2 separate regions of the Homo sapiens genome follow, and region 1 is linked to region 2. Evidence: promoter capture Hi-C in human tissues and cell types (Jung and others, 2019). All regions are on one chromosome and are shown on one strand. Each heading gives the region's core, a stretch centred on a gene start or on the middle of the fragment in contact. The rest is flanking DNA. Distances are from core to core; before and after follow the strand shown. Region 1 has its middle 140 kb from the start of TRIM33. Region 2 holds the start of OLFML3 (olfactomedin like 3).

Region 1 (5,418 bases), core at 2,912-5,411, 390 kb after region 2:
CTCTTTTCGCTCTCTCTCTCTTCCCCTCTCTTTCTCTCCTCTCTGTCTGTCTGTCTCTCTCTCTCTCTTTTTCTCTCTGCTGGTCTTTCCTTGCCTTTGCCAGCTGCTTATGCTGCTGTTCTCCTCTCTCCTTCCTCTTCCTCTAGGGGAGGGACCAGCGGGAGTGGAGGTACTCTTTCTTCTTGGCTGTCTGTCCCTTTGCCACTAGCACTGCTGCTGCCTGTCCTCTTAAGCACTGTGGGGGGTCTAAAACCAGCTGCAACCAAGTATCTATGTGTGGAAACTGATCTGGTCCTGATTTACCAGTTACTTTGGGCCATACCTTTGAAACTAGGGACCTGTCTAGGCTTCCTTCTGATGGTGATCCCACCTCTAATGCCAGCCAGTCTATCTCACACAAAGCCTTAAGCTTTCCAGGTGTCATAGCAATTCCATAGTCCCCATTGAATCCTTTCTTGAAATTCTTTAACATCGTTTCTAATGGGGTAGGCTTACTTTGTGTTTTACACATTTTCCTCTCTCAGGAGACAGAATAACGCTCTTACCACAAAGAGGGAAGGGAAAAAGGGGCAAAAAGTCACTCACTCCACTCACTCACCAAGCAATTCACACTAAAACCAAAGCATGGATAAGGAGTTACTCATTCATCAAGCAATTTGAGCCAAGTCAGAACTGAAATCAAAGCCAAAACAGTTCAAATCCAAAAGCCAGTACCAAAATCTAAACCAAAGCAGTGTGAATCTAGTCAAAATCAAAACCAAAACCAAGTCGCTGATAAAGGCACGCCATGGGTGATCAGGCCATGTTTCCAAGTGGGCAAGTTCCAAGACCAGTCTTACCGTGTTCCAGATGTCTGGAGTCCAAGCGCCAATTCCTTCTGGGTGTTCAGCCACTGCGTTGATCCTCCATGGGGGCCTACCGTGCACTGCTCTGGCAAGGCATTCCACCAGGGCAATTGCCTACCCGGGAGTGCTCTCAGGATTTGTGTCGCTAAAGCTGGCCAGAGTGCCCCACAGGGATGCTCCACAGGGCAGGCCTAAGCCACCTAAGGGGTTGCCTCAACCGTCCGCTAATCACCTCACTTCCTGGTCGGGGCACCAAGAAATGTAGCAGGACGAGCCGCAGACAAAACCCTCAGACACCAAGTTGAGGAAGGAAAGTGCTTTATTTGGCCGGAAGCATCAGCAGACTTATGTCTCAAAAAACTGAGCTCCTCCAGTGAGCAATTCCTGTCCATTTTAAGGGCTTACAACTCTAAGGGGGTCCATATGAGAGGGTCGTGATCAATTGAGCAAGCAGGGGGTACATGACTGGGGGCTGCATGCACTGGTAATCAGAATGGAGCAGAACAGGACAGGGATTTTCACGATGCTTTTCCATACAATGTCTGGAATCTATAGATAACACAAGCAGTTAAGTCAGGGGTTGATTTTTAACTACCAGGCCCAGGGCGCAGCGCTGGGCTGTCTGCCTTTTAGTTTTTACTTCTTTTTTATTTGGAGGCAGAAATTGGGCATAAGACAATATGAGGGGTGGTCTCCTCCCTTAATAGCAGCAATTTGTCCTAGCTGAAATATGGTAATGAGATTTAAAAAGGTTCTTTTAAAGGAGCTCAATGGTAAAAAGTCAGCTGAATTAAAAGCTAACATCCAAGATGTGTGTGTATATGTGTGCATGTGTGTGTGTTTGTATTTAAAAGGTCTTCATGTTTTTGCTTTGTTTTTTTCTCCTAGGGCCTTGTCTTTTTTTCTTCTAGGACCTTGTCTTTTCTTCTTTTTTGAAAAAAAGTTTTTCTTAGTTGACTGAATTCCGTTTTCTTCATTTACTTCTGCTGTCTCTCCTTTCTCTTGCACCCTCTGCTGCATGAGGGATGTAAAATAGTTTATAATAGCCTGGGGTTCCCTAAAGAAAATGGAGAAGGCACCAGGCTCCCTTTGAGGGAGAAACATGTTTTTCCTTTTTCCTTGTGGAACCCCAAGAGTGTAAACAGACAAGTTTGTCTCAGCTCTTAAACTGCTTGCTTTTGTATTGTGTCACCTGACTTACTGACTAAAATAGTTATTGCAACAGAGACTACTCTTGGACTTTTAAGGAAGAGTGTAGTTTAGACACTTAGAAATGTCTATGTTTAAAAAAAATTTTAAGTGCACTGTAAAAACATCACGTGGTCTAGCCTCATAATAATTCTCCCTTTTTGGAGACAAAGAATTCAGTGTGGACTCTGCCTAGAGCTCAGAGATCCATTTAAAAGATAGGTAATCCCTATCTAAATAAAATTGGGCTTCTCATACAATCTTATGATAGATTTCTATAATTTTATGTTTGATTTGACATCCATCTTTAATCTCCCTCTAGCACCACCAGACTTTATCTCTCTGTACCTTGAGATGTAAATTTTGCTATCTGATTTTTCATCTAAGAGTTGTTTCCTTCAATATGCAGATTTACAGCTATTTAGCTGACAACTGCCAGGATAATGAAACAGGTTATCAAGAGTTTGCAAGTCTAAGATAGGAAAAAAAAAAAAAAAGGAGATCTTAGGAATCTTTAAGATGTACTTCCATCAGTATGCCTAATACAGCTATGTATTTATGTATTGTGTACACAATGTTTCACTTCTAAAAATATAGAAAAGAAGTCTAATTAATTGGCTTAAAGAAAAATAAAAGCACTTAAATCAAATACTTTCTCAGAAAAAAGGAAAGACTAGTCAAATACTCTTTCAAGTTTATGTAACTTAAGTAAAATCTTTAATAAATAAGCTAGCTTTAAAAGTATTGGTAAAGTAATATTAGAACTGTCTTAAGAATTGCCAGCAAACATTTTTGTTTGCATTTATTGATCAAGCAATATCATACTTTTCCCTGGCAAATACCATAAGGTGTCAAAATTTAACACAGGGGTTATGAAACTATAAATCCAGCCCAAAACAGAATGATCTTTGCTTGTGTAATTTTTTTTTTTTTTTGAGACAGAGTTTCACTCTTGTTGCCCAGGCTGGAGTGCAATGGTGTGATCTTGGCTCACCACAAACTCCGCCTCCCAGGTTCAAGCAATTCTCCTGCCTCAGACTCCTGAGTAGCTGGGATTACAGGCATGCGCCACCATGCATGGCTAATTTTGTATTTTTAGTAGAGACAGGGTTTCTCCATGTTGGTCAGGCTGGTCTCAAGTTCCCAACCTCAGGTGATCCATCCGCTTCGGCCTCCCAAAGTGCTGGGATTACAGGCATGAGCCACTGCACCTAGCCACTTGTGTAATTTTTAATAAATAAGATATTGATACTGGTTTAATGAAAACAGCTACATCTTGAATTATTTAGTAAAATTATCATAACTTCTAATCTTATGGTTTTAGGCAATGTAGTCCACAGGCAGTAAGGTGGTTTGTTTGGGAAAAGACTTTTATCATCTTTGTTTCAAAGCTTAACTATAAACTCTCTTTCTCTCAAAGTGAATTTGACTTATGTCCAGGAATGAACAAGGACAGGTTGGAGGTTAGAAGCAAGATGGACTCAGGTCATGTCTTTTTTCACTATCTCAGTTATAATTTTGCAATGGCAAATTTCATAAGTTTAAATGATGACTATCACAGTTTTCATAAATAATCTAGATAAACAATTAAAATAAAATAATTAGGTAAACATAATGGGATAAATACTTGTAGACAAACTTCTCATAATTTAGAATCTAAAGGTATATTAAATTAAATAATAGATATCTCAATAAAAATATATATTGTAGGAAAACATCCTTTCTTAAAAAAAAAAGTGTCCTTTTGGCTGGGCACAGTGGCTCACGCCTGTAATCCCAGCACTTTGAGAGACTGAGACAGGTGGATCATGAGATCAGGAGTTTGAGACCAGCCTGGCCAACATAGTGAAACCCCGTCTCTACTAAAAATACAAAAATTAGCCAGGTGTGGTGGCATGTGCCTGTAGTCCCAGCTACTCAAGAGGCTGAGGCGGGAGAATGGATTGAACTCGGGAGCGGAGGTTGCAGTGAGCAGAGACCACGTCATTGCACTCCAGCCTGGGTGACAGACTGAGACTCCATCTCAAAAAAAACAAAAGTGTCCTTTTTAAAAAGGTGAACAATTCGTGTCTAATTCAAAGCTTATTTAAAGGTTATGTATAAAACAATGTAAAGGGAACAAGGAAATAACAGAGATGTAAAGAAAGTTATAGAAATAAAGAGGTATTTTTTGGTAAGAAAGCTTAGTTTTCTCTCCCCTTTTAAAAGGCATGAAATAGAAATGCTCTCCTTCAACTTATTTTCAGCTCACATAAATTTTTTTTCCCTCGAGTTATGTTTGTTGTGGCCTGATACTAACAATGTTTTCTTAAAGGTCTAAAGGAAATGTTTTCTTTCAACATAATATTCTGTACACTGCAGAAGGTCTTTTCTTTTGCTTTTTGGTAACTGGCCTAACACATTTTACATTCTATCAAAATATTTTCTATGCCATTATTATGAAGTTTTGGCTTGCTTAGAAAAAAACTGTGATAAACATTTTTAAAATTAAGATTATTGCATCTGTGTATCTTTCTGTATGTACTTTTAAAGTCATTGTGACATTCAGTTACAGGGCTTTGACTCCTGGGTCTAAAAAGGACACCAAGTCCTGCTAAATTTTAAACCCTGACAGTAATTAAAGTCTCATCTTCAGGCCTGGTAGAAGACGCCAATCAAAATAAACTGCATTCCTGAGACACAGGGCCAGAAATTAAAGCTATTCAACTCCTCAGGGCCCAGAGACTATTGCAGAAGAGATGGGTGTGTGAGATTGTCAGGGCCAATTTGACAGATAAAATAAGTTCAGTTTTTCTATAAATTAATGATTAATGTCAAAGGCACACTGATGCAAGACACTGATGCAAGCATATGGGCCCCTGTGTCAGATTGACAAAGTTTTCTTGAAGCATTAACCAACTCCTTAATAAATGTTATAAAGTTTATAAAAGGCTTATGGAAGTTATATCTTGTAGTCAATATAAAAATTTTAGAGATTGTTTATAAAATTTTGGAAAGCAAATTTAATTGGCTTCATTCTGTTTTCATTAGGGCTTATTGTTTGGAAAATTAAGTCTCCTCTCTCAAAGAATGAAGGTTTTTGTCTTTTGTTGAAATCCTTATCACTTTTATTAAATGAATGACTTATTTTACAATGATCTGTGATCCTATTTTGTGATATCAAGTGTTTTAAACCTTTGATATTTGACAAACTTTCCAAAATCAAATTATAAATTATGTGTTTTTCTGATCTAATTAATATTTTAAGATATTAGGTTCCCTAAAGCCCAAAAATGATATATTTGGCTTATTTGGTATAAAAATTTTACAGAAAGCATTGTCAAATATAAAATGGTATTTGGTTTTCTTTGGGCTGTATTTGTATAAATATGTTATTGGTATGTGT
Region 2 (4,953 bases), core at 310-2,809:
TTCATTCTTCACACAAATCTCCATACTGGAAATGAATAGGGTTTGGCAGGGAATACTTCCCAAGAATGCAGTGTCCAGGGTCCTTACTTCACATCATCTGGATCTGACCCTTTGAAAGAGGTAGAAGACTTCTGAGACCGGCTAATTAAGCTTTGTTTCCTCATATGTTTTGCCAGATAGCAGTAGCAGAATGAAAAGATGAGTAACCACAGGAAGCTGCTATTTTTCCCCTCCTTTCAAACTGTACTGTTAGAGTCATGGTCCTTTTTACAGAAGGAACCTCTCATCAGATTCTGTTGATTCTAAAGTGAATAGAATTTCTCCCGATAAAGAAATAGGGGTTTGTTTCGATTAATGACTGCAGGTCTCTGAGTAAATGCTCTATTTGATTTTTTTTTTCGGCCCGTGTGTCTACCTTATGGCCCAAGTCTACCTTATGGTGGCCATTAATTCATTTTGGGCTCCTGCAGCCTTAGTTGGGATATAGAAATGAGAAACACTCAGAAATACCCTTTTGGACCACAACCAAGAGAAATAACCAATAGTCTTTTCTCCCAGTGGTAAGGAAGTCAGAATACATTGATCTAGACTGCAACAACATATATATATATATCAGATTCCGCCCCCCCGCAATACATGAATGTATAGTAAATTAGTGTGAACTCACTGAACACTCCTCAGTTTTGGTGAGAGACTATATCTGGCCTCTTTCAAGCAAAGGAAAGCCATGTAAAACAGCGCTGCTGTCAGCCTTAACTTCCAGACGATCGAGTTAATTTACTAACTTCTCAGTGACCTGTTTTTTTTTTTTTTTTAATCTCAGTTATATTTTCTTCCTTGGGCTAAATCAGATATTTGCATAGCCCCCAAAGTAGTAATTGGATAGTCTTGGGGGAAATATGCATTTCAGTGGTGAAAACCCCTGTAAATTCAATATATTTGGCTTTTGTGGAAAATTTTCCTCATGGGGTGAAGTCTAAGCCTTAGTTTCTGTATTATCATGAGAGATGACACCAGCTGCTTAGCACAAGGTGGCGCCAATGAGCTTTAGAATAAGTTGGGCTTGACCACTTGGGCCATTGTTTTCCTGCTTCCTCCCTTCAAGCCTCACCTCCCCAGCTCCCAGCTTCTACTGAACAAGGCTGAAAACCCACTCTATTGCAGGGAAAGGGAAAGATTAATGAAAAATGTCAGTTTCTTAAGTCAGCACTGGTGAAACTTTCCTAAAACAGGAATGGCGTTTGCTGAGTTTTCTCTGGGGTCTCTGCTTTCTGCAGCTAGCTTCCCTGCTTGACTGCCTAGAAGGCCTCTGCTTTCGGGTTTCCATCTCTTTCCCCTCCAGAGGACCCTACAGCCTAGGCGGGAGGTGGTTAAGGCTTCTGGCTGCTGTGCAATGGGGCCATCTGTGTTTGATCAATCCTGGCGGAAAGGAGGGGGTGGGGGTTGTAAAGAGAACTGAAAGCATTCCAGAGTAGTGAGAGAGACCCAGAGATCAGGAGAGAAGGCACCGCCCCCACCCCGCCTCCAAAGCTAACCCTCGGGCTTGAGGGGAAGAGGCTGACTGTACGTTCCTTCTACTCTGGCACCACTCTCCAGGCTGCCATGGGGCCCAGCACCCCTCTCCTCATCTTGTTCCTTTTGTCATGGTCGGGACCCCTCCAAGGACAGCAGCACCACCTTGTGGAGTACATGGAACGCCGACTAGCTGCTTTAGAGGTGAGGGACCCCTTTCTCTTCTAGCCCCGCCTAGAAGGATTCCAGGGCTATTGGTTCAACCAGTTTGTTAGGGATCTGGGGATAACAAGAAAGGGCTCTGTTAGAGTCTACAGAAAATTCTCTCTTAATAAGAGGACCTTCGGAATGACAAGCCCTCCTCTTACCCCACATAGAACAATTCCAAAGCAAATCGACTTTTGCGTTTTACCTCTGGGATTAGATAGAATAAGGGGGCAGAGTGGAAACGAGAGCCAAAATTGTGGGGCTGCATCTCCAGAGAAGGTGATGATTCTGTTGAAGTTGGAGGTTCCCGGGGAATCTATAACTTCCTGTCTTTTTAACAGGTTGAGATCCGTAGCATTTTAGTGTCCGAGAGGATAATTGCTAAGGGAGCAGAGACCTCTTCACACCTTCATGCGCTTAGACCTGCCTAGAGGCTCAGATGGCTCAGTGGCACTGCTCACAGAGAACACAGGCTGGAGGACATGGAGTCGGGGTAGGGGCCTAGGTGAATCTCAGCTAGGCTCTTTGCACATTTAGCACCTCTGCACATCTGGTTTCCTTTTCTGCAGGAGTGGAAGGGGATATTGAAGCCTGGCTGAGTTTGCTCTTTTTTTCCCATTCCTGACTCCCGAGTTGGGCCTCTCCCTGCCTGGGAGTTGTAACCCTGCAGCCTCCCTCCTGATCCCCCATCCCTTCAGGAACGGCTGGCCCAGTGCCAGGACCAGAGTAGTCGGCATGCTGCTGAGCTGCGGGACTTCAAGAACAAGATGCTGCCACTGCTGGAGGTGGCAGAGAAGGAGCGGGAGGCACTCAGAACTGAGGCCGACACCATCTCCGGGAGAGTGGATCGTCTGGAGCGGGAGGTAGACTATCTGGAGACCCAGAACCCAGCTCTGCCCTGTGTAGAGTTTGATGAGAAGGTGACTGGAGGCCCTGGGACCAAAGGCAAGGGAAGAAGGAATGAGAAGTACGATATGGTGACAGGTAAATAATCTGAAAGCAGGCCCCTAACTCTTCTCAGAACCGATATTCTTCCTTCCTTGCTTCTTACTCTTTTTTTCGCTTTGTCCCAGTCCATTGTGGCTCTGTCTTCTGGAATCTGTTTTAGGGAAACCTCTGTAATGCCAGGTCTATTAAGGAGAGGTTCTGGGGATCCAGGCCGCTGTGGTACCCGCTCTTTCTCAATTCTCCCTAAGATTGGAGGCAACCACTGGGCAAATGCTCACTATTCTCCAGATCACCCACCCTGGGGGAGTTCCTGCTGGAGGCATCTAATTCTTGCCTCTATTTCCTTTTCCTGTGCTTTTCTCATCAGACTGTGGCTACACAATCTCTCAAGTGAGATCAATGAAGATTCTGAAGCGATTTGGTGGCCCAGCTGGTCTATGGACCAAGGATCCACTGGGGCAAACAGAGAAGATCTACGTGTTAGATGGGACACAGAATGACACAGCCTTTGTCTTCCCAAGGCTGCGTGACTTCACCCTTGCCATGGCTGCCCGGAAAGCTTCCCGAGTCCGGGTGCCCTTCCCCTGGGTAGGCACAGGGCAGCTGGTATATGGTGGCTTTCTTTATTTTGCTCGGAGGCCTCCTGGAAGACCTGGTGGAGGTGGTGAGATGGAGAACACTTTGCAGCTAATCAAATTCCACCTGGCAAACCGAACAGTGGTGGACAGCTCAGTATTCCCAGCAGAGGGGCTGATCCCCCCCTACGGCTTGACAGCAGACACCTACATCGACCTGGCAGCTGATGAGGAAGGTCTTTGGGCTGTCTATGCCACCCGGGAGGATGACAGGCACTTGTGTCTGGCCAAGTTAGATCCACAGACACTGGACACAGAGCAGCAGTGGGACACACCATGTCCCAGAGAGAATGCTGAGGCTGCCTTTGTCATCTGTGGGACCCTCTATGTCGTCTATAACACCCGTCCTGCCAGTCGGGCCCGCATCCAGTGCTCCTTTGATGCCAGCGGCACCCTGACCCCTGAACGGGCAGCACTCCCTTATTTTCCCCGCAGATATGGTGCCCATGCCAGCCTCCGCTATAACCCCCGAGAACGCCAGCTCTATGCCTGGGATGATGGCTACCAGATTGTCTATAAGCTGGAGATGAGGAAGAAAGAGGAGGAGGTTTGAGGAGCTAGCCTTGTTTTTTGCATCTTTCTCACTCCCATACATTTATATTATATCCCCACTAAATTTCTTGTTCCTCATTCTTCAAATGTGGGCCAGTTGTGGCTCAAATCCTCTATATTTTTAGCCAATGGCAATCAAATTCTTTCAGCTCCTTTGTTTCATACGGAACTCCAGATCCTGAGTAATCCTTTTAGAGCCCGAAGAGTCAAAACCCTCAATGTTCCCTCCTGCTCTCCTGCCCCATGTCAACAAATTTCAGGCTAAGGATGCCCCAGACCCAGGGCTCTAACCTTGTATGCGGGCAGGCCCAGGGAGCAGGCAGCAGTGTTCTTCCCCTCAGAGTGACTTGGGGAGGGAGAAATAGGAGGAGACGTCCAGCTCTGTCCTCTCTTCCTCACTCCTCCCTTCAGTGTCCTGAGGAACAGGACTTTCTCCACATTGTTTTGTATTGCAACATTTTGCATTAAAAGGAAAATCCACTGCTCCTCTCCTGTGTTTGTTTGGGGTAGCCCTCAGATCAAACTTCCCCCTGACCATCCAGTTTCTCCCTCCCAACCCATCCCCACTCCTTGAGCCATATTAAAGACTTGGGCGGGGCTCCCTTTGCTGAGGAAGAGTTTACTGTGAGGCGCCTGGGGGAGGTGGCAGAATCCCGCCACTTTAGGAGGCTGGACGAAAGGCCTCCTTCCACACCCACCGCCATCCACAGCAGCCAATCCACAGCAGCCATCCTAGAACCTCAGTGGCACCGTGCCTCTGGCTGTGAGACACTGGGGCCCAGGGCAGAGATTCCAGTTCCGATTCTCAGAGGATTTTGAACTACAAAATGCATGTTAGTTGCATTGCATTCTAGTGTGGAAACCAGAGCCCTGAATGCCTGTGTTTTTAGTAAGAACTGAAGTCTCCCCTCTAAAGTGGACTCTGCCCCGCACCCCAGACCTCCACTCCCACCTCCAGCGTTGTGCTCCTGCAGGGCCAGGTTGCACAATCATTCTTGGTCTGGACCGCTCTGATTTTCCTGCTGCCACGGCGTCTGCGGTTTGTGCAGGGAGGAGGGGCAGTGACCGTGTCCCAGATGTTGGCCTTACACGGTCTGCA

The links. The method cuts DNA at HindIII sites, captures the fragments that hold promoters and counts their contacts. A contact is called where the count stands out against the background at its distance.
Region 1: a fragment that was not itself captured here is called in contact with the fragment with the promoter of OLFML3 in region 2 in 2 of the 25 tissues and cell types used here (bladder and small bowel).

What each region holds. Positions count from the first base shown.
Region 1 is chr1:114,368,045-114,373,462 of GRCh38, forward strand. No RefSeq gene overlaps it. Among named protein-coding and RNA genes, the nearest start is that of TRIM33, 140 kb to the right of the region's middle. The HindIII fragment of the contact is 4,490 bases long and covers 1,917-5,418 here.
Region 2 is chr1:113,977,915-113,982,867 of GRCh38, forward strand. It overlaps OLFML3 (olfactomedin like 3), which reads left to right and starts at 1,560. Exons shown (of 3, transcript NM_020190.5): 1 at 1,560-1,716; 2 at 2,418-2,703; 3 at 3,035-4,339. The coding sequence starts at 1,603. The coding sequence ends at 3,855. RefSeq lists enhancers at 804-1,637, 3,305-4,137. The HindIII fragment of the contact is 5,723 bases long and covers 1-4,953 here.